Regions from separate parts of the Homo sapiens genome. Here regions 1, 3, 4, 5, 6 and 7 are each linked to region 2. Evidence: promoter capture Hi-C in 16 types of primary human blood cells and fetal thymus (Javierre and others, 2016). All regions are on one chromosome and are shown on one strand. The core of a region is centred on a gene start or on the middle of the fragment in contact, and the rest is flanking DNA. Distances in the headings are between cores, read along the strand shown.

Region 1 (3,063 bases), core at 15-2,514, 4.6 Mb before region 2:
TAGAGCTCTGAAACTCATAGCTAGTCATCATCAAAATCTCCTATATCTTCATTCTCTTCCCTGAACTGTTCCCTCAACATTCTTGTTCTAAAGGAAATATGGCTCTCCCTTAGGACCTTGCTTCCTTTGTACCCTCCTCCTCCTCCTGAGCCTTGTCATGGAGTAGGTATGCTCCTCGTTCTCCTTCTTCCATCCAGAGGCTCCTGCTTCCCTCTTCCCTAAAATCTGCCAGTTTGTCATCAGGATATACCACACAGTATATATGTGGGTGTCATCTATATAACCCAGGGTCACTCCCTCTCACGTTTTGAAGAATTTAGCTCCTGGCTCAGTGTCATTCTCTCCAATAACATGCCTATCATAATTCTTGGTAGATAATCCCATAGCACTCCGTCTCCTGCTGGGTTTGCTCTGGTACAAAGTAGACATATAGTAATTTTGGCATTTTGCTTCTAGTTTTCCTCCCCTATCTTCTTTGGGGTATACTTTTTTTCTATTCTGTTTTGTGTAATATTTTAAGTCATAAATATTTAAACACAGAGAAAGGTATTCAGAACATTGCATATGTAACACAGTACCTACCTCTCAGCTCTGTCAAATGTTAGCATTTTACATTTGCTTCCGATGCTTCTCAATCCTAATTCTCTCCTTCCCTTTCCAGAGTAACTAGTATCCTGTTTTTGGTTACCATGTGCTTTGGTTACCCATGCATCTATACATACTATTTTTGTATATGTATCCAAAAATAATATATAGTATTGTTTGGCCTGTTTAAAGTGCTCATATTTTTATTTTAATTATTTATTTTTATTATTTTTTATTTTAGGAAGATGTTGTGGTTTTATTGTATCATGAGGCATTGAAACATCTGAACAAATCAATGTCTGGGCGGTGAGGCAGCTTCTTTCTCTTCACTTCTTTGGGTTGCTAGAGCAACTTGTCAGTAGATTAAAAGAAAAAAAAGGACAATCTTTTGCATTACTTAAGTCTTTCCAAGGCATGCGCTGGTACAATACAAACTTCTCCCGTCAGATGCAACTAGTCTAGCGTCCAAACATCATGCACAACACCTCGGCGGCAGCAGCGCACTGCACCCACTCCCGCCACGGCCCTGCTCATTTGTGCATGATATTTGGAGCATCTGGAGGAGTGGGAATAGCACTGGGGAGAGGAGGGAGCAAGAAACAGCATGAGTGCCTGCTGAGAGGTCAGCCAAAGTTGTGCAGGGCGAGCCTGAACATGTCATTGGTGCAAACCCAAGTATTGTTGATGTTCTTTAATAGGAACATCTGGTGGAACCCCATGATGGCGGTCTTCATCCGCCTTAAGCTGGCCCACAACCATGCTGATGATGCAGCTATGCGGCGTGAGCTGATGGTCCTGCGCGGTGATGCTGTGCTGGATTTTCTGGAACCGAAGGCTAGACAACTTCTCCACAATGGCAGCTTTCCCCTGGAACTGTTGTCCTTCCCACGTAAGGCATGATGCGTCAATGTAAATTGCGCCTAGTTGGGGTCTATCGTTATCAAATAACTGGTAGTAATGTGGAATGAAGCTGGATCCTATCTGCTCCCAAATTGGCTTGTCTCCCACTCTGGACCGTCAGCCGGCCTCGCGGAGACCCGAGGGGCTGGCACGATGGCTGCAGCGGCGGCGGCAACCCAGCACGGTCTCAAAATGCTCATATTTTTAAGTGGTCTCATGCATTACGTATGCTACAACTTGACTTTCTCCTTAGTGACGTTTTTGAGATTTACCCATTGTGATTCAGGTAGCTCTCATCCAGTTATTTTTACCTGCCATAACATGTTCCATTTAGTAAATATATTCTATTGAATGAATATTACAGTTTACCCATTTACCTATTAATGGACAGGGAGGCTGCTCCCAATTTTTTCACTATTAAAAACATTTGTCTCAGACCCAGCACAGTGGCTTACGCCTGTAGTGCCAGCACTTTGGCAGGCTGAGGCAGGCGGATCGCTTGAGATTGGGAGTTGGAGACCAGCCTGGGCAACATGGCGAAACCCCGTCTCAACAAAAAATACAAAAATTAGCTGGGCGTGGTGGTGCGTGCCTGTAGTCCCAACTACTTGGGAGGTTGAGGTAGGAGGATGGCTTGAGCCTGGGAGGTCCAGGCTTCAGTGAGCTGTGATTGTGCCACTTCACTCCAGCCTGGGTGACAGACAGAGTAAGCCCCTGTCTTTAAAAAAAAAAAAAAAAAAGTTGCCTCCGTGAACATTGCATTTGTTTGTTTGTTTGTTTGTTTGTTTGCTTTTTTTTGGACAGAGTTTTCCTCTTGTTGCCCAGGCTAGAGTGCAATGGCACCATCTTGGCTCACTGCAACCTCCGACTCCCAGGTTTAAGCAATTCTCCTGCCTCCGCCTCCGGAGTGGCTGGGATTACAGGCGCCCCCCACCATGCCCGGCTAATTTTGTGGTTTTAGTAGAAATAGGGTTTCACCATGTTGGTCAGGCTGGTCTCGAACTCCTGATCTCAGGTGATCCGCCCACCTCAGCCTCCCAAAGTGCTGGGATTACAGGGGTGAGCCACCGTGCCCAGCATGAACATTGTTGTATGCACCTTTTCTTCAGGCATATGTGTGAGAATTTCTCTAGGTCAGTGTCTCCAAAGTGGGAGGAGTGTATTCGAGAACTGTATCCTGGGGGGCAGGAAGGAAATATTAAAATATAAATTTATAAAATTTTTAATTTCATCTTTGTTTGGAATAAAGTAGGTATAAGGAAGCAGTTAGAATTCCAGGTTTTACTCTGATTTACCCTCATTATATTCCTTGTGTTTGTTTTTAATCAGCAGATCCAGCTTCTGAAATAAAGCAAATTTAATTCCAGGCTCCACCACATGGTGGGGCAGAGACATCAGCTATACAATCCGTAAACTTTGTCTACTGATTGACTCAGGCCAAATGCTAGGAGTTGGAAAAACAAAGATAGGACACCAGAGCTGCTACTAATAGCTAGTATCGAATCAGGATAAATATTCTCATCATTCGAACTAAAGGGGCTTTAGGACCTACACTGAGAACTAGATGAGACCAACTTA
Region 2 (3,429 bases), core at 799-3,298:
CAGCTTCGACCTCGAGGGCTCAGGTGATCCTCCTGCCTTTGACTCCTGAGTAGCTGGGACTACAGGTGTGCACCACCACACCCAGCTAATTTTAAAAATTATTTGTAGAGACAGGGTCTCCCTATGTTGCCTAGGCTGGTCTCCTACTCCTGGGCTCAAGTGATCCCCCTGCCTCTGCCTCCCAAAGTGCTGGGATTACGGGTGTGAGCCATGGAGCCTGGACGGAAATTTTTAAGTTAATCATTTAAATTCTGATATATCTTCTTTCAAAAATTATTTTTAGATTTCTTCCCCATTCATATTGCCAATAACTAGACTTTTCTTTCCTCCATTATTGCAGCATTTCGACAACCTCCAGCTAGTCTCGTCTAGATAGATCCTTTTAGTCGTTCTAGACACTTTCCATAATTAGTCTTCTTAAGACTAGTTTTTCCAGTGTTGTAGTCCAGAACTTGCTACTTAGCTCAGCCTAATTTCTGCATTCCTCATTCAAGGCCTTCCCCACTTTAGCTCCAAATTTCTCTCTCTGTTGCTTACTGTTGGTTCTTTGCTGGGGGCACAGGTGACCTTTCCTATGTCTAGGAACATATCAGGCTTTATGTTCTTCCCTTTCCTTTCAGTGTCTACATTGTACCCATTCTTCAAGGTCCAGAGGGAATGCCACTTCCTTCTTGAAGTTTCCTGGCAGCTCCAATTCACACTCATGACATCTAAATAATTATCCTCATGTGTTGTACTTGGGACAAAATAGTTGAATCCTCTTTTTCCTCTTGTTTCGTTAACAGGATACCTAAACGGACCATTACCTGCGACAACGGGACATGCGCGGATAGCTATCTGAAGTACAAATTTGTCATTTCCAAAATACTGGTTCTTTTTCTAAAGAAGTAGTAAAAAAGAAAGAAAAAAAAGAACCAGTATTTTGGAAATGACAAATTTGCTTAGTCGCCCAGGCTGGAGTGAGGTGGCATTATCAAAGCTCACTGCAGCCTCAATTTCTTGGGCTCGAGGGATCATCCCATCTCAACCGCTCCAGTAGCTGGGACCATAGGTGTGCGTCACCGCATCTGGGTAATTATTTTTTAAATTTTAATTTTTTTGCAGAGACCAGGTCTATGTTGCTCAGGCTGGTCTCGAACTCCGGGCCTCAAGAGAGTAAAATCATAAAGTGCTGGGATTACAGGAAACGCAGCGGACCCAAATTCTGTTCTTTACTCATACCTAGCAGCTCCTCTGGTTGCCTGAGGGACCATGTCTCAAACACTATCATGTCGTATTAATTTTTCTTTTTGTTTAAAAGCTGAAAGTGAGAGTACAGTAGGACGTCTCCGGGCTCCAACTACGTCCTATAAGCATGCATCCTTTATTCTGAATGCGTGTGAAATAAAGTTTGAAAAGAATAACCACAGACATACTTGTGACCACAAGCCACAAGAAACGTAGTCAAAAGTGCACTCTCAGTGCTGCTGCCGACCGGGCACGGCGCTGGGCCTGCATTTGCGCTTTCCTGGAGCCTCAGTGTCTCATCTGTACAACGTTGATAATCGTCGGCAGCACCTCTTTCCCAGGGTTGCTCTGAAGGGTTTTCTTTGGGGTGAACCGCCAGGCGGTCGGCCTCCCAGGAGCGGGGGGAGACGCCTTCCTTACGCGACGCACTTCCGTGCGCGAGGAGGGAAGATCGTGGCTGAGTGCGGGTGGCCTGGGCGGAAGGCTCAGCGGGGACAGGTTGGGCCGCAGCTTTGCTGTGCTGTGCCGTGCGACGCCCTCCGCAGGAGCGCGCAAAGTGTTAGCCACGGCGCCAAGCAAGCTGGACGTGCGTGCATGAGCGCGCTCGGACTGACAGGGAAGCGAAAAGGGGGCCAGGGCGCACCATAGAAAAGCCGCGGCAGAAACGTACGACACAGCCCGAGGCGGCGGGGGCGAGAGCTCCGGGGCAGGGACGGCGACGCGGCGTACCCGGTTTGGCGCCCCTGCGCGGCGGTCGGCCGTCCCGCAGCGCCCCAGGTGGCCGCCGGCGGGGTCGCCGCCGGGGGAGTGGATTTGCTCCGCCTCCGCCGGGCTCGGCTGCCCTCGGCAGCTTCCCCGCCTGGCTCTCCCTCGACCCTCCTCCCCTCCCCCTCCCGGTTCGCGATGGACTGGGCCTCCCCGCCGCGCCGCCGCCGCCGTCGCCCGCAGCACCGCGCGGGCCTCTGAGTTGCAGGGCCTGAGGAGCCGCGTGCTGGGGACTGGACGTCCGCTGGCTGCTGCCGCACGCGAGAACCTCTCGCTTCCCTGTCACCAGGTCCTCGCGGAGGAAGGGGAGGGACGAGGCGCGGCTTTTCCTGTGCCGCCTGCCCGGTTCGACCTGCGCGGCCTGCGGCTTCTTGGGAACTCTAGGGCCGCGGCCGGGCCTGGCTCTGCCGGCGGCCTGTTGGGAGCTGGATCGGAGCGGTTTGGAACGACAAGCCCGAGTAAGAGCCTGCGGGAAGGGGAGGCGGGAGCGCCTCGGACCGTCGGAAGGGCCCTGCGTGGGGGCGCGGATCCCGGACGCCCGGCGAGTGGCGGAAAGCGAGACCCCGGCGCCGAGTGAGGTCGGCCAGGCTGCTGCCGACTTCCCCGCTGGCCCCTTTGTTCCCCTCCCGGGGCCCTGCCGGCGGCGGGGCCCGGTTGCCCGCGCCAGAGCCTCAGGCCGGCTCCTTTTGCCCTTGAGAAGGGTTCGCTGCCAGGCCTTCGAGTTCCGGGCGCAGCTCCCGGGAGAGCCGGCGCCCTGCCTGGCCCGGCGGCCTCCTCTCGGGCACGAAGGCTTGCTGCTGCTTCTCCAGAACTTCCCTTCCTCGTAGACACAGGTAGTTAACTTAGCGGGGTTTGGTGCTGGGGAACCACAGCGCGGGGGCCAGCGCCTCTCAGCGCCCGGCTCGGCCGGGCCCCGGGTGTGGGGTCAACCCCGCTGGTCGCCGCCGTTGGGTGCCCACCGCGCCCCGCCGCCGGCTTCCCACACTTGCGGCTGCGTTACGTGGGACCCAAAGCTGTCCTCCAGTCAGGGCGCTTACGGGGCGCTTTTGTAATGACTTACCTGTTGGGGTTGCTTCTCGGTTTTGTTTTTGTTTTTTTAACCAACTGCCCTATCTTGTGAAGCTGGGGAAAGAGGGCCCTAGGTTGGCCTACATTCGTTCGGATCCGTAACCTGCTGGTCCATTGCATTTACTTTTAGCCTTTCCTTTTTTAATTTTTTTATTTTTTTAACTTTTAAGAATAGTTGCCAAGACTGCCAAAATTCCTAACCAACTCTTTATTCATAGATAAATCTTGTATATAATTGTCGTTTGTATTTGGATATCTTTAAAATAGAAGTAAATTGAGAAGTCAGCAGAATATGTGAAATTGGAGGTAATTTTGAAGGAGAAACAATTTGGAGGGGGATTGGATCAAGGTGTTTAGAGTTTCCTCAAA
Region 3 (3,479 bases), core at 1-2,500, 3.8 Mb before region 2:
TATAGAGTTTGGTATGTGGGAAAGTTGTGTTTTTTGTTTTTGGGGTTTCTTTAGTTTTTTATTTAAGAGATGGGTTCTTGCTCTGTTGCCCAGGCTGGATAAGCTTTTGTTAATGCAAACGACATCTTATACTATAAGAGATACACAGAGATATACTCACAGTTTGGGGGAAATGTCTTACTAACATTCAGGTACTTAGTCTCAAAAATGAAGCTACTGAAAAAGCTTCATTCTCATGGAGGATGGGAAGAGTTACATACATGAGCAACTCAAGGGTTTTTTTTTTGTTGTTGTTGTTGTTGTTGTTGTTGTTGCTGTTTTGAGACGGAGTCTCGCTCTGTCTCCAGCCTGGAGTGCAGTGGCGTGATCTCGGCTCACTGCAACCTCCACCTCCAGGGTTCAAGCAATTCTCCTGCCTCAGCCTCCCGAGTAGCTGGGACTACAGGCGAGCGCCACCACGCCCAGCTAATTTTTGTATTTTTAGTAGAGAAGGGGTTTCACCATGTTGGCCAGACTGGTCTTGAACTCCTGACCTCAGGTGATCCACCCGCCTTGGCCTCCCAAAGTGTCTTTTTGTCTAATACTGAAAAGTTGCAAGAAACGTTAACTCTCTAAACCAGCGCTGTCCAATACAGTAACCACTAGCCACATGTGGCTAATGCGCACTTGAAATGTGGTCAGCCAGAACTGCGATATGCTATGCGTGTAAAATGCACCCAGGATTTAAAAGACTTAGAAAAGACTCCAAAAGAGAATGCAAATACTTCATTAATAACTTTCATAGTAATTTTAGGTTGAAATTGTTTTGATAAATTAGGTTAAATAAGATATGCTATTAAAATTAATATCGGTTTCACTTTTTTAAAACGTGCCTACTGGAAAATTTTAAATTACAATTTTCAATGCAGCTTGCATTCTATTTATGTTGGACAGCGCAGCTCGGAGCCTTAGTTGCCTCGGCGGTGAAATGGGGCTAACACCCACCTCGAGCGGTTACTGTAAGGATCCAGTGAATTAAAGCTGGTAAACGTTTGGCATATGCCAAGCAAAGGGCAGATGCCCAGGCAGGCGCTCGCACCAGAAGAGACTGAGAAGTGGTTGAAGCCGCCCTCACCTGGCTTCCAGCTACTGCAAGGACAGCCTTTGGGGGACACGCCTTTCTTCTTCCTCTGGTAGACCAGAAGCTGGACTATCACCCCAGGAACCCGAGGCCGCCCCAGAGTCTGCTGTGCTGCCAGCCAAGGGGTTGGTGAGTGAGGCGGGGGGCGCTCCTTCCCACAAGCTGGTCTCAGTGAGCAGAAACAGGGGTGCAGTGAGGAGGAACTCCAAAGCTGGGGCGGCCTGCTCGGAGGACGGCCGCGCAGGCTAAAAGAGCGGCCCGCGGAGAAGGCAAGGAGGCGGCTCGGCTCCCCGGACGTCAGCCTCGGCGGCCCCACCTACCTGCCCTGCAGATTCCCCGAATGCCGCGGCGGCCGCAGCTCCCGAGGCTGCGACGGCTTCTCCTCGTTCCACACCGCCCACTGGCTCCTGGTCCATCGTCGTCGCCACCACAGGGCTGCTGGCGCTGGTGAGAAAGAGGGTAATGGCCGGTAAGCCCACTTCCATCCTTGGTCTCCCCGCCCAGTCGCTGGCCGAGCCAGGCTGTCGGGAAGTGGGACTCACCCGCCCAGCGCCCGCCTCGCGCCGCGCCTAGCCAAGTCTCTGAGAAGGGGACTCGCCGGCCTGAGGGGCGGGGCCAGCCCGCGCCTCGCCTAGCCCGCCGGGCTCCGCACCCCGAGAGCTGGCCAACTGCAGTCTGGGAGGCGCAACTACCGGCTCGCGCGGGGCGGGGCGGGGCGGGGCGGGTCCTTGCGGGGCGTCGCTTCCGGCCAAGCAAGCATCCAGAGCTCGTGGATCCCCGCCTGGCACCGCCTGTGACGTCATTTCTGGTACGTGTACCTGAAGCCTGGCGTCTCGACCTCGGCGCAGCCCGTCACCAGCGGCGTCTGGGGCAGTCACCCCGCAGGACCTCGGTTTTTGCACTTGTAAAATGAAGACAGCTGTGTCGTTGTACTTCAAAGGCTAGTGATGGGATGTGGTTGCTGAAAAATGTAAAATGTACGGCTCGTGCTGCACTTTCCATTCCAAACGTGGGTGACAGTCCAGCCAAAATACCCTCGAAAGAAGAACCCCAGGCGTGATATTTGCTTACTCTTGTCTGAAATACTTAAGTATAACTGTAGAAAGTGTTAAGTGAAAAGACCTGAAGGAGAGCAAAGGGCAGTAGTAAGCTTCCATCTTGACAAATGTAAGGAATGTTTTATCTGTGTCTTAAAGTCGTGTGCGTATGTTAGAGGGGGCGTCCCAGATTTTTTCCGTCTTTCGCAATGTTCAACGAAAGTAAAAAATCATGCAATTACTGCATGACTTCAACATCAAACAAGTCTGAGGTTCTGCAGGTAAATGGTATATTGTTGTTTTAGCATGAAAGTTTTCACAAATATGTAGGGGGCAAAACCAAAACATACATTATTTTGGCTATGGGAGGCTTCATTTGATACTTTAAATTCCATTTTCATACTAGTCTCAATTCAGAAATGCTCCCTAAAGTTGTATGACCTTGTAAATGTTTTTCATCATAGCAACAGCAGGCCCAAATATTAAATATTCCTTTCTCTTCTGTGCCAAAGTTCTTCTCCTTACCCTCTGCCTAATGTTATTGTACACTTCCTATTCTATGTATAACTGGAACCTAAAAACAAAACCAAAAACTTTAAAAAACAAATAATCATTTGAAAACCATCTACGCCTTAAAAACTAGTTGGAAATCCATATTGCTCTCTATCCTGGTAATAAAATCAAGTTAGGTTGCTGCTGAAGTAAACAAGTTAGTACCTGATCTGACTCTGTATGGTGGCATCAGCAGGGAGTTGAGACAGTCCAAAACAGCAAAACCAAACTCGGCCATAAATTGAAAACAAAAATAAAGAACCAATTGTTAAGACTTCATGAATTGGCATTCATAAACAACACAGTTCTGCATTATATGTATTCAAAATCTCTTCCTTCTTACTGGCAAGCAGGGCAATCAACAATCTTTATTACTAAAACTTTGTGGGATATTTATAAATGCATGATTTTATTTTCCAAAGTGGCAATTAAATATCAAATTACAATTTTCTTTTTCTTTTTTTTCTTTTTTTTTTTTTTTGAGATGGGGTCTCACCCACGCTGGAGTGCAATGGCGCAATCTTGGCGCACTGCAACATCCGCCTCCCGGGTTCAAGCGATTCCCCCACCTCAGCCTGCCAAGTAGCTGGGATTACAGTTGTGCACTACCACGCCCGGCTAATTTTTGTATTGTTAGTAGAGACGGGGTTTCACCATGTTGGCCAGGCTAGTATCGAACTTCCGACCTCAGATGATCCACCCACCTCAGCCTCCCAAAGTGCTGGGATTACAGGCGTGAGCCACCACGCCTGGCCTCAAATTACAATTTT
Region 4 (3,070 bases), core at 279-2,778, 3.4 Mb before region 2:
CAGCTACTCGGGAGGCCAAGGCAGGAGAATCGCTTGAACCCAGGAGGCGGAGGTTACAGTAAGGCGAGATCGTGCCACTGCACTCCAGCCTGGGTGACAGAGTGAGACCCTGTCTCAAAAAAAATAAAATAAATAAAATAAAAATAAGCTTTTTATTTTGCAATAATTTTAGATTTACAAACAAGTTGCAAAGATAGTAAGTACAGTTTCCACATGCTCCTCACTCAGTTTCAGTTTCCCCTAAAGTGGTCATCTTACAATACTGTGGCACATTTCCTGAAAGTAAGAGACTAACATTGGTACATTATTATTAACTAGATGCCAGACTGCCACTAGTTTTTCCACCAATGTCCTTTTTCTGTTCCGGGATCTAATCCAAGAAACCACATTGTATTTAGTTGTCTCCTCTGGTCTGTGGTAGTGTCTCAATCTTCCCTTTTTTTCATGACTTTGACAGTTTTGAGGAGTATTGGTCAGGTATTTTGCAGGATTCCAGAAAAATGATTAAGTGCATAAACTAGGGTTATAAAAGAAGGAAATCATATGAAAATATAGGTATTAAAGTTCTTTCATACCAGCCTAAGCAACATAGTGAGACCCTGTCTCCACAGACAATTTTAAAAGGCCAGGCACAGTGTCTCACGCCTGTAATCCCAACCCTTTGGGAGGCCAAGGAGGGAGGATTTATTGAGCCCAGAAAATAGAGACCAGCCTGAGCAACACAGGGAGAACCATCTCTACAAAAAATTTAAAAATTAGGCCAGGCACGGTGGCTCACACCTGTAATCGCAGCACTTTGGGAGACTGAGGCGGGTGGATCACAAGGTCAAGAGTTCGAGACCAGCCTGGCCAACATGGTGAAACCCCTTCTCTACTAAAAATACAAAAATTAGCCAGGCACGGCGGCACATACTTATAGTTCCAGCTACTTGGGAGGCTGAGGCAGGAGGATTGCTTGAACCTGGGAGGTGGAGGTTGCAGTGAGCCAAGATTGTGCCACTGCACTCCAACCTGGGCGACAAAGTGAGACTCCACCTCAAAACAAACAAACAAACAAACAAAAAGAAAGTGAAACAGCCTTATTGTTGATATAGAGAAAGTTTTAGTGGTCTGGATAGAAGATCAAACCAGCCATAATATTATCTTTAAGCCAAAGCCTAACCCAGAGTAAGGCCCTAACTCTCTTCAATTCAGTGAAGGTTGAGAGGGGATGAGGAAGCTGCAGAAGAAAATTTTGAAGCTAACACAGGTTGGTTCATAAGGTTTAAGGAAAGAAGTCATCTTCGTAACATAACAGTGCAAGGTGAAGCAGCAAGTTATCCAGTAGATCTAACATAACTGATGAAGGTGGCTACACTAAACAGATTTTCAATATAGACAAAATAGACTTCTATTAGAAAACGATGCTATCTAGGACTTTCACAGCTAGAGAGGAAAACTCAATGCCTAGCTTCAAAAGACAAGCTCTCTTCTTGGGGACTAAACCAGCTGGTAACTTTAAATTGAAGCCAGTGCTCATTTACCATTCCAAAATCCCAGGGCCTTTAAGAATTATGCTAAATCGGCCAGGCACAGTGGCTCACGCCTGTAATGCCAGCACTTTGGGAGGCCGAGGCAGGCGGATCACCTGAGGTTAGGAGTTCAACACCAGCCTGGACAACATGGTGAAACCCCATCTCTACAAAAGTACAAAAATTAGCTGGACATGATGGTGGGTGCCTGTAATCCCAGCTACTCAGGAGGCTGAGGCAGAAGAATCACTTGAACCTGGGAGGAGGAGGTTGCAGTGAGCCGAGATCGTGCCATTGCATTCCAGCCTGGGCGAGAGAACGAGACTCTGTCTCAAAAAAAAAAAAAAACAAAAAAAAAGAATTATGCTAAATCTAGCCTACCTATGCTTTATCAATGGAACGAAACGACAAAGCCTGGCTGACAGCACATCTGTTTACAATATGGTTTACTGAATATTATTTTTTAACTTTTAAAAAATTTTAATCTATCTATTTATTTAGAGACTGGGTTATGAGACTGGCTGACTTTTGTATTTTTGGTAGAGATGGGGTTTCACCATGTTACAAAGGCTGATCTTAAACCCCTAGGCTCAAGTGGTCCACCTGCCTCAACCTCCCAAAGTGCCGAGATTGCAGGCATGAGCCACAGCACCTGGCCAGTTTACTGAATTTTTTATTTATTTATTTATTTTTGGACAGAGTCTCACTCTGTCACCGGGCTGGAGTGCAGTGGCGCTGATCTCGGCTTACTGCAGCCTCTGTCTCCCAGGTTCAAGAGATTCTCCTGCCTCAGCCTCCCGAGTAGCTGGGATTACAGGCACCTGCCACTGTGCCCAGCTAATTTTTTGTATTTTTAGTAGAGACGGGGTTTCATCATGTTGCCCAGGCTGGTCTGAAACTCCTGACCTCATGATTCGCCCACCTCGGCCTCCCGAAGTGCTGGGATTACAGGCGTGAGCCACCGCACCCGGACAGTTTACTGAATTTTTAAAGCCCATTATTGAGACTTACTGCTCAGAAAAAGAGATTTCTTTCAAAATATTACTGCTTATTGAAAATGCCCCTAGTCACTCAAGAGCTCCGTTAGAGATGTTCAAGGAGATTAATATTGTTTTCATGCCTTTGAACACGATAGCCATTCTGAAGCCTGTGGATCAAGGAGTAATCTTGAATTTAAAGTCTTATAATTTTAGAAATACATTTCATAAGGCTATAGCTGTCATATATATGATTCCTCTGATGGACCTGGGCAAAGTAAATTGAAAACCTTCTGGAAGGGATTCACCATTTTAGATACCATTAAGAACATTCAGGATTCATAGAGGAGGTCAAAATATCAACATTAAATGAAAGTTTGAAAGAAGTTGATTCCAATCCTCATGGATTTAAAAGCTTCTTTTTCTTAAAAGTAATCAGAATCTTTTAGCAATTCAAGACTTCAGTAGAGGAAGTAACTGCAGATGTGGAAACAGCAAGAGAACTAAAATTAGAAGTGGAGCCTGCATCAGATGCTCACGCCTGTAATCCCAACACTTTGGGAGGTCACGGCGGGATGATCC
Region 5 (3,027 bases), core at 225-2,724, 4.1 Mb before region 2:
GTGCTCCATGTTGAACATATATTTCCTTTCTCTTTTTTTTTTTTTTTTTTGAGATGGAGTCTGACCCTGTCGCCCAGGCTGGAGTGCAGTGGCACAATCTTGGCTCACTGCAACCTCCGCCTCCCAGGCTCAAGCAATTCTCCTGCCTCAGCCTCCCAAGCAGCTGGGATTACAGGCGTCCACCACCACATCTGGCTAATTTTTGTATTTTTAGTAGAGATGGGGTTTCACCATGTTGGCCAGGCTGGTCTCAAACTCCTGACCTCAAGTGATCTGTCCACTTTGGCCTCCCAAAGTGCTGGGATTACAGGTGTGAGCCACCATGTGTGGCCCTGAACATGTATTTTCTAAATGATGTTTGCCTCGAAAGGAAGCAATTGTTTGGCAACCTTGTTAATGTGACCTATTACTACTAGACTTCTAAAAAGTGAAATTTGTCAAAAGGACATTTTTTAGTGCAACTGAAGGCAATATCAAGCAGTTTAAATAGTTGTTGATGCTTATGCTATGTACTGTAATTATTTACATATATTTACTATCACAGAATTTATAAATGATACAAAGTTTTTTGAAGACAAGATTTTTGATTCCTTACCAATTTAAAAAATAACAAATACAATTTTAAAGGTGGCAGGAAGGTCTCCAAACAGAAAAGAAAACAAGAACTAATTGTAGGTTCCTTAGAGAGATTTTAAGATTATTCTTGCTGAAATTTTTACTTAAAAAAAAAAAAGGCACCTTTTTCAAAAGCAACTTGATCCCTGCCCCCACCCCTCACCCCTACCCCAACCCAAGTTACAAGACTTCTTCCTACGGGAAGAAAAGCTAGGATAGATTCGCTTTTGGTGTTGTCGGTTGTTTTTTTAACAGATGAGGTCTCACTATGTTACCCAGGCTAGAGTGCAGTGGCTATTCACAGGCACTATCATTGCGCACTACAGCTTTCAACTCCAAGGCTCAAGCCATCCTCTTGCCTCAGCCTCCTGAGGAGCTGAGACTACAGATGCATGCCACAGCACCCAGCTGTTTTTTTTTTTTTAAAGTCCTATGAATTTTTCTGAATCTGTCATGTTTATATGACTTATCTGTGGGCAACCAAAAGAACAAATTAGGAAAAAAAAGAACAAACGAAAAACCTCTTCAAGGTCTAGTTAAGCTTAGTTTACCACTCCCGTACCCCACACCACAACCAAGACCATGTGTCTTTATGGTTGTGATCTAAGAATAGATACACATAATAGTTAAAATGCCTCCCAGTAGTTCCTTGTATCTGTCGATTTAACTGCAGTATTTTCATTAAAGATAAGAGCATCCTGGTCCATGGTATATCAACTGCCTCACAGGGCTGCTGGGAGGATTAAATGAGCTGATTATACGAAGCACTCAGTATGGATTTGAATCATGGAAGCTATAAGGCTGATGTGTGGGAGTTAGTCACTTAGTGAGTAAGAACACACACACACACACACACACACACACACACACACATCCAGCAACTGCAAGTCAATTAGCTGTATTCAAAATTTGGGCTTTCCAAAGATCTCTAGATAAGGGTCTGACATATATCAGTAACTCATATTGCTCCTCAAAGTTCTACTTAAATAACCACTAAATAACCAAAGTTCTATCTGAAAAACTTGCAAACTACTACTTTGGGAATTGAATTTGTATTGGCCTTAAACTAAAAAAAAGAAAACACTTATGCTAATTTTTTTCCTTACATAAGGAAGGTAACTTTATGTCATCTCTGGTGTTAGATATAAAATCACTCTGAAATAAGGAGAAAAGCTTTCATATCTGACTCTTAAATAGAGTCCAAAGTTTTAAAAACAGATCTCAGGTGCTGGGGAAAAAAACAAACACACAAACAAAAACTATAATGACAGTTAAAGAAAAAAGATTTCCCCCACAAGTTATAGGACACATGGACTCACACGCCTCCACCTTTCTAGTCTGCATGTGGCCCACAATATCACTCACCTGAATTTAGGATTTTCAACTGTCACTACTCCAACTTCTATTTCTGAAGGTTTGAAATCAATTGATAGAACAGTAGACAGGCATGTAATTGCAGTCTGAAAAAAAGTATTTAATGTTAAAATATAGTATTTTTTAGAGATTCCAAGGTTTTCTCATTCCTAGCTTATTCAAATCATGAGTCAATCAGGAGCTCCATGTTTCAATGAGGTAGTTCAATGTTACTAACAGACTGCTTAACTCTAATGTATTGCCTCCCAATGATGAGAAATTTTTTTCTACCAAGTCAAATAATAAAGGGGTCCATTAATTAAAATAGGATGATTTATACAAAAAGGTTTATTGGCTTCATGACCCAGGCACTACACTTCACTTAGCACTTGGGGTGAAATGGGAAAAGGATAAAGATGAATGATACTCTCTGCATCTTCAAGGAATTTACAGTAAAAACGATTTAAGAATGTTTTAAGTGTTGTTTGTTTGTTTTGTTTCTGTTTTTTGAGGCAGAGTCTCACTCTGTCGCTCAGTCTGGAGTGCAGTGGCGCCAGCCTGGCTCACTGCAACCTCAGGCTCGTGGATTCAAGCGAGTCTCCTGACTCAGTCTCCTGAGTAGCTGGAATTACAGGCGCCTGCCACCATGCCCGGCTAATTTTTGTATTTTTCATAGAGACAGGGTTTCGCCATGTTGGCCAGGATGGTCTCAAACTCCTGACCTCAGGTGATCTGTCTGCCTCCCAAAGTGCTGGGATTACAGGTGTGAGCCACCTTAAGTGTTTTTTTACCGGATGTGGTTATTTATGTAATTAATTATGAATTGCAATAAAAGAAACCTTTAAGAAATATTTAGACAGGGCCCAGTACTTCCTGAACATGAACTAGCTTTTTATCTCCTTTAAGCATACTTCCAAACCAAACGTAAAAGCATTAGATGGTAATTTTTTTTTGGTCACTTATCAGAAGCATGTTGTTAGCATCTTCAGAATGGCTTTAATTCCAGACTTACACCCAAAATCTACTAAAATTTTTGTTTTTAATTTCTTGGCAGTAAAT
Region 6 (3,260 bases), core at 535-3,034, 3.2 Mb before region 2:
CCAACAGTGTTTGACACAATTAATTTAGCCATTTTTATTTCATCACTAGTGCTGACAAGGATAATGTAATTTAAAAATTAACTGAATAAATATATCTGCTCTTAATAAGTAGTAGCTGCATTGTCCTACTTGTAGAACTCAGATGCCTAGTTTTAGGGAGCACTGTCCTCAGTGCAAGCACTGTGGTGACCTGGAATCTCCTGCCCTGACACGTACAGTTTGCTTATCAAGCAATTACCCTGGCACCTACCATTTCTGAGCCTTAGGAAAGCCCTATTTAGAATGCCACTTAAGGAATGTGCTCCCTCCCTTGAGTTCTTATGCAAGATCTTTTTTGAATGCTTAAAGAGAGAATAATAATAATAATAATGATAAGAAGAAAAAGAAGAAGAGGAAGAAAGAAAAAGGAAGAAGGAGGAGAAGGAGAGGAGGAGGAGGAGAGCAAATCAGTAAATCACTTAAGTAAAATTTGCCCTGCAAAGAAGTCAGGGCATCTTGGTCCTATCTTGTTCTCCCCCTCACCAAATTGGTGCCACTTCCTGAACACACTGGGTGCTTTCACATACTGGTGCATTTGCTGGCATGGTTCTGCCTGGCCTGGATGCCCTTCCCTTCATTTCTCAACACTTCCCCCGTCAAAAGCCAAGGAACTCCGTTGTGTAGCTTTCTCCAACACCCACAGATGGAATTAATACTTCCCTCTTCTGTAGACCCACACCACTCTGGAAACACCCCTATCATGCAGTTTATTATAGTCTGCCTAATTAGAAGCATGGTATTTGTCCACTGTGGTTGACCATGAGCTCCTGGCAGACTGGCAGTATTTTATCCGCTTTGTAGTCTTAACAGGTGGGGCAGAGCCTCTGATGATTCTGGGGGAAAAGAGTGAAATCACCTTTTGCCATTTGTCATGTTGTAAAGCTTCCTTTCCTTTGCTAAATACTTACCAGGAGAGCCCTACCATCATGGCTTAAGCATTTTTGTCCCACAGCAAGGGACTAGCCAGGGCAGGGAGGTAGATAGTTTTGTATTTCATATATGGCTTGTATTGTGCCATGAGAATATTTGCAGGCTTGTTACTTTGAAGTGCCTCTGTCAGAGACTAGAGGAAGCCTGATTCTCAAGCCCAAATGAGATAGGAAAGTTGTCATGGATACCATAACTGCCAGTCTTCTTGGATGTCATAGGCGAGGCAGGTCAGCTCAAGAGAGAAGTGCTTCCTGGTGGTGTTTGCCATGCCTGATTGTGGATAAATCCAATATAACCCAGCATTTTCTACACTTGTTTGAATGCACGAAATCTAGTGGGCAAAGATTGAGAAAGGCAGCCTTTAATTGCTGGGTGTGGTGTAAGGTTGATTGAGTGTGGTGGAGTTGTGAGTAGACTTGCCTGCAGAGAAGTAAAACAGATGGAAATTCCATGGCCTTGTAAGTGAGTTTTTATCTCTATTTAAAATCTTTCTCATTTCTTCAACTTACGGTTATGAAATATTTCAAACACACAGAAAAGTTGAAAGATTATTATGGTGTAATCCCATATGCCCTCCACATAAATTTCACAATTGTTAATATTTTGCAATACTTGCTTTATTTTTCTCTGTACTTTGGTTTTCTTTTTTGTGTGCCATTTGAAAGCAAATTATGTACACATGATGACACAACACTTTTCGATATTCAGCATTTCATCCCTTAAGAATACAGATATTTATCCACAGAAACAAAATGTCATTATCCCTGCTAAGAAAATTAACTATCTAAAATCAACTAAATATTTACATTTCTGGCCGGGCATGGTGACTCACGCCTGTAATCTCAGCACTTTAGGAAGATTGCTTGAGCCTAGGTGTTCAAGGCCAGTCTGGGCAATATAGTAAAATGACGTCTCTTAAAAAAAAAAAAAAAAAAGGCAAGAGTGGTGGTGCATGTCTATAGGCCTAGCTACTCAGGAGGCTGAGGTGGGAGGATCACTTGAGTCCAGGAGGTTGAAGCTGCAGTGAGCTATGATGACACCACTCACGGCACCCCAGCTTAGATGACAGAACGAGACCCTGTCTCAGAAAAACAAACAAACAAACAAACTGCATTAATTCCTCCAAAATGTCTTTGTAGCTGTTTCTCTCAAATTAATGCATACATTACATTTTAAAACTTCATTTTAACATAGAATGTTTTATCCCTCTTTTTTTCCCTCCATGACATTGACTTTTTGAAGAATCCAGGCTCGCAGCCTTATAGAATGTCCCACATTCTAGATTGTGTTTTCTCTTGATGTTAACCTGTTCCTCTTTCCCAGTAAGTTTTAACCCGGGCTGTACATTAGAATTCCTTGTTTTGATTAATTGGCCTTACAAAGAAGAAGTAATAAATTGGTCCACTCTGTTCTCACTGGGGGTTTTAAATACAAAACTAAAAACCTAGAAATTTCATACAAATGTCTGAGTGCTGCTCTAATCCAGTTAAATCAGAAGCCCTTGGGATGCAGCCCAGGTGGCCCTACTTTCAAAAATCTCCGGGTGGCTCTAATATGAGGTCAGAAGTAAGAACCACTGCTCTATCTCCTGTATATTCTTTAAACTAGAAGTTAGATTCGAGTATACGTTTTTGTTCAGAATATCTTAACTGTACATTACAATCATGTGGGAAGCTTTAAAAAATACTGATGCTTGGCAACTCCGGCCCCCGCCCCTGCCCAAGTAGATTCTGCCGTAGTTGGCATTAGGAGTTTGAAAAGCTCCTCGGGTGATTCTAATGCAATTAAGAAGCGCTACTGCCTTAGATTAGGTTGTTGAATTTGCATCATATCAGGAAGCATGTAATGCCACAGTGTTCCATTTTTTGTGATGTGAAATTCAATCACTGGATTAAGGTGGTCACCACCATACCTCTCCATTTCAAAGGTACAGTTGCTCTTCTTTGTTTATTTTATATATTTTTTGAGATGGAGTCTTGCTCTATCACCCAGGCTGGAGTGCAGTGGCGCGATCTCAGCTCACTGCAACCTCTGCCTCCCGGGTTCAAGAAATTCTTCTGCCTCAGTCTCCCAAGTAGCTGGGACTACAGGCGTGTGCCACCATGCCCAGCTAATTTTTGAATTTTTAGTAGAGACGGGGTTTCACCATGTTGGCCAGGCTGGTCTCGAACTCCTAACCTTGTGATCCGCCCACCTTGGCCTCCCAAAGTGCTGGGATTACAGGCATGAGCCACTGTGCCTGGCCCAGTTTCTCTTCTTTGTAAAAGTAAGTGGTCCCTGGGATGGTACTT
Region 7 (3,220 bases), core at 97-2,596, 4.2 Mb before region 2:
AGGAGTCCAGGCAAGAGCTTAAACTCCTAACATTTGGAAGGTTGAGAAAATATGTGTGCAAAGTGCCTATTGGATGCCTTTATAAAGTTCTTTCAGAACCCAGACTGTGGGTTCTTAAAATTCAGAAGATAAGACTACTTGTTCCATAAAAGAATAGGTGAAAGGAGTGAGGGTTGAAACAGGTGGTTATACTTTTTTCCTTTTGTTCTTCCAGGCCACACGTGTCTACACTTAGCCTCTATCCATGGCTACCTGGGCATCGTGGAGCTTTTGGTGTCCTTGGGTGCTGATGTCAATGCTCAGGTTGGTGCTTCCTGCCCCCGACGCACTGAGTCAGGCTCCTCGTGCTTATGTTGTGAGCAGAAATTCCAAATGCAGCCATAAGCATCTCAAATTCCTTTTGGTTTCAGGAGCCCTGTAATGGCCGGACTGCCCTTCACCTCGCAGTGGACCTGCAAAATCCTGACCTGGTGTCACTCCTGTTGAAGTGTGGGGCTGATGTCAACAGAGTTACCTACCAGGGCTATTCTCCCTACCAGCTCACCTGGGGCCGCCCAAGCACCCGGATACAGCAGCAGCTGGGCCAGCTGACACTAGAAAACCTTCAGATGCTGCCAGAGAGTGAGGATGAGGAGAGCTATGACACAGAGTCAGAGTTCACGGAGTTCACAGAGGACGAGGTGAGTCTGTGAACTCCTTCGGCGCTCTAACTAATGAGGTGCCATTCCCTTCACCCTCCCAGGCCCCTAGAGCTGCTCCTTATCAGAGGGGTATCTACATAATGAGTCTCTCAAATTTCTGTGCATAACCAGTATCCCAAGAATGTACCTGCCCCCCCTCTTTTTTTAAAGAGAAGCATTAAAGGCAAACTCTCTCAGCCTGTAAAGTTCATTATATTTGGGCTATGGAGAATGGAGTCCAAGAGTTATTTCCAGTAGTGGCCTCCCCATCCCGGTAGCTTGGCAGAGCTCCGCTCCGGAAGCTTAACGTGTCTTTTTTCCCCTTGTTTTCAGCTGCCCTATGATGACTGTGTGTTTGGAGGCCAGCGTCTGACGTTATGAGCGCAAAGGGGCTGAAAGAACATGGACTTGTATATTTGTACAAAAAAAAAGTTTTATTTTTCTAAAAAAAGAAAAAAGAAGAAAAAATTTAAAGGGTGTACTTATATCCACACTGCACACTGCCTGGCCCAAAACGTCTTATTGTGGTAGGATCAGCCCTCATTTTGTTGCTTTTGTGAACTTTTTGTAGGGGACGAGAAAGATCATTGAAATTCTGAGAAAACTTCTTTTAAACCTCACCTTTGTGGGGTTTTTGGAGAAGGTTATCAAAAATTTCATGGAAGGACCACATTTTATATTTATTGTGCTTCGAGTGACTGACCCCAGTGGTATCCTGTGACATGTAACAGCCAGGAGTGTTAAGCGTTCAGTGATGTGGGGTGAAAAGTTACTACCTGTCAAGGTTTGTGTTACCCTCCTGTAAATGGTGTACATAATGTATTGTTGGTAATTATTTTGGTACTTTTATGATGTATATTTATTAAACAGATTTTTACAAATGAGTTATCCTGATCATTTTCTTCAGGCTGCCGTGGGCCTCCGGTTCTGAAGTTCCATCCTCCGGCAGAGGTGGAGGTGGAGCAGTGTGAGGGAGGAGGTAACTCCCAGCAGCTTCTCACACCTGACACCCAGCCTCCAGCAAAGCTTTGCAGGCACCCTGGGCCCAGTGTGTGGGAGGGAGGCTGTTGCAAGGTTATAGGAAATTACCAATCTCAGGCTTGGGGTGGAAGCATGCTGTTTGGCCTGTGGTTGGAGACCTCTCCGTTGTCATTCTGTCATCCCGTTGATTTAAACTTCCTGGACCCTAATTGCCAGTTGAGGAAATTATTTTGGCCAAGAAGAATATGCTGAATTCATATAGAGCTGGGAAAGATCTCACTAATACAGGAAGTTCCTAAGGACATAGGCTCAGAAATGGGACTGCACTGACATTTGTTAGCAGATGCTCACCTCTGAGCCTCAGTTTTCTCATTTATTAGCTGGGCTGTTGTGAAAATTACATAAGACAATCCACGTAAAATGCATAGCAGAGCGGCAGGCACGTAGTGCTAAAGAAAAACAAGCTGTTACGCAACGTTCTTTATGTCATACCAGGAGAAACAAGTCCAGAGAGAATGTCCTGTCTAGGGTCACCTTGCAGGAGAAATAGGTGGTTAACATATTTCATACGTGCTCGTTTTGGGGTAAACATCTTTTAAGAGCATTCCATCTCTTAAATCTATGTGTTATTGGCTGTAGTAGAAAAGTAATAAAGGCTTGAAGGGTCTTATCAGTTCAGTCTACTGATTGTACTGGACGATTCTACAGGAGCAAATGTCACAAGAAACCAGTAATGTGAAACTTGGCTTAGATGCTCTATCTTGAGGTTTTCATCCCTAAAATGGCTCTCTTGCCTAGGTAGAGAGAAGAATAAAGATGGGTATACTGAAAGCCCAGACTTTACCGCTATACAATATAAAAAATCTGCATTTGTACTCTGTAAACATTTTTATTAAATTTTTGGGGGATAGGGTCTCACTCTGTTGCCCAGGCTGGGGTGCAATTGTGCAATCACAGCTCACTGCAGCCCCAAACTCCTGGGCTCAAGCGATCCTCCCAACTCAGCCTCCTGAGTAGCTGGGACTACAAGCATGCACCACCATGCCTGACTAATTTTATTTGTAGAGACAGGGTTTCTCTATGTTGCCCAGGCTGGTCTGGAACTCCTGGGCTCAAGAGATCCACCCACTATGGCCTCCCAAAGCACTGGGATTACAGGTCTGAGCCACCACACCCAGCCAAAACATTTCTGAGGAAAAAGTAAAGTTATTGCATTCTAGAAAATGCAGAGTAGTGTATAAATGCAATTCATGTCTTTGACTTATACCTAAGAAAAAATTATTACATTATCCCTTTCCTGATCCACAAACGATGTCAAAGTCAAAAGAATATGGTCACCTTGGACCAAAAAGGAGCCAGTATTTAGTGGTCTTCCACATATAAGGAGTGTTACTACAGACTGGTTAAAGCCAATTCTGCCCCAATTCTTTCTCTTTCTTTTTTTTTTTTTTTTTTTTTTTTTGAGATGGAGTCTTGCTCTGTCGCCCAGGCTGGAGTACAGTGGCATGATCTCAGCTCACTGCAACCTCCACCTCCCGGGTTCTAGCGATTCTCTGTGC

The links. Contacts are between HindIII fragments. The CHiCAGO score rates a contact against its expected background, and 5 or more counts as called.
Region 1: a fragment that was not itself captured here is called in contact with the fragment with the promoter of HECTD1 in region 2 in 1 of 17 cell types (naive CD8 T cells); the score reaches 6.2 in naive CD8 T cells.
Region 3: a fragment that was not itself captured here is called in contact with the fragment with the promoter of HECTD1 in region 2 in 3 of 17 cell types (total B cells, M0 macrophages and non-activated CD4 T cells); the score reaches 6.6 in total B cells.
Region 4: a fragment that was not itself captured here is called in contact with the fragment with the promoter of HECTD1 in region 2 in 2 of 17 cell types (M0 macrophages and M1 macrophages); the score reaches 8.0 in M0 macrophages.
Region 5: a contact is called between a fragment that was not itself captured here and the fragment with the promoter of HECTD1 in region 2, in 1 of 17 cell types (M0 macrophages). The highest score is 6.3, in M0 macrophages.
Region 6: a contact is called between a fragment that was not itself captured here and the fragment with the promoter of HECTD1 in region 2, in 1 of 17 cell types (M2 macrophages). The highest score is 9.4, in M2 macrophages.
Region 7: a contact is called between a fragment that was not itself captured here and the fragment with the promoter of HECTD1 in region 2, in 1 of 17 cell types (M0 macrophages). The highest score is 8.3, in M0 macrophages.

What each region holds. Positions count from the first base shown.
Region 1 is chr14:35,818,368-35,821,430 of GRCh38, reverse strand. It overlaps the pseudogene NUTF2P2. Among named protein-coding and RNA genes, the nearest start is that of BRMS1L, 6.4 kb to the left of the region's middle. RefSeq lists an enhancer at 1,595-2,096. The HindIII fragment of the contact is 4,817 bases long and covers 1-3,063 here.
Region 2 is chr14:31,206,412-31,209,840 of GRCh38, reverse strand. It overlaps HECTD1 (HECT domain E3 ubiquitin protein ligase 1), which reads left to right and starts at 2,048. Exons shown (of 43, transcript NM_015382.4): 1 at 2,048-2,825. RefSeq lists enhancers at 1,107-1,618, 1,472-1,641, 1,619-2,130, 2,643-3,156 and silencers at 1,822-2,161, 2,462-2,671, 2,792-3,001. The HindIII fragment of the contact is 4,913 bases long and covers 1-3,429 here.
Region 3 is chr14:35,044,590-35,048,068 of GRCh38, reverse strand. FAM177A1 (family with sequence similarity 177 member A1) reads right to left here and starts at 1,797. Exons shown (of 5, transcript NM_173607.5): 1 at 1,441-1,797. The coding sequence starts at 1,605. RefSeq lists enhancers at 928-987, 1,088-1,357, 2,078-2,277 and a silencer at 1,608-1,957. The HindIII fragment of the contact is 2,045 bases long and covers 228-2,272 here.
Region 4 is chr14:34,643,516-34,646,585 of GRCh38, reverse strand. No RefSeq gene overlaps it. Among named protein-coding and RNA genes, the nearest start is that of SNX6, 15 kb to the right of the region's middle. The HindIII fragment of the contact is 2,755 bases long and covers 151-2,905 here.
Region 5 is chr14:35,313,409-35,316,435 of GRCh38, reverse strand. It overlaps PSMA6 (proteasome 20S subunit alpha 6), which reads right to left. Exons shown (of 7, transcript NM_002791.3): 6 at 1,981-2,075. It overlaps PRORP-PSMA6 (PRORP-PSMA6 readthrough), which reads right to left. Exons shown (of 15, transcript NR_182666.1): 14 at 1,981-2,075. Among named protein-coding and RNA genes, the nearest start is that of PSMA6, 23 kb to the right of the region's middle. The HindIII fragment of the contact is 632 bases long and covers 1,159-1,790 here.
Region 6 is chr14:34,366,872-34,370,131 of GRCh38, reverse strand. No RefSeq gene overlaps it. Among named protein-coding and RNA genes, the nearest start is that of SPTSSA, 94 kb to the left of the region's middle. The HindIII fragment of the contact is 1,722 bases long and covers 924-2,645 here.
Region 7 is chr14:35,399,854-35,403,073 of GRCh38, reverse strand. It overlaps NFKBIA (NFKB inhibitor alpha), which reads left to right. Exons shown (of 6, transcript NM_020529.3): 4 at 215-303; 5 at 411-680; 6 at 1,014-1,561. The coding sequence ends at 1,061. Among named protein-coding and RNA genes, the nearest start is that of NFKBIA, 3.3 kb to the left of the region's middle. RefSeq lists an enhancer at 84-957. The HindIII fragment of the contact is 724 bases long and covers 985-1,708 here.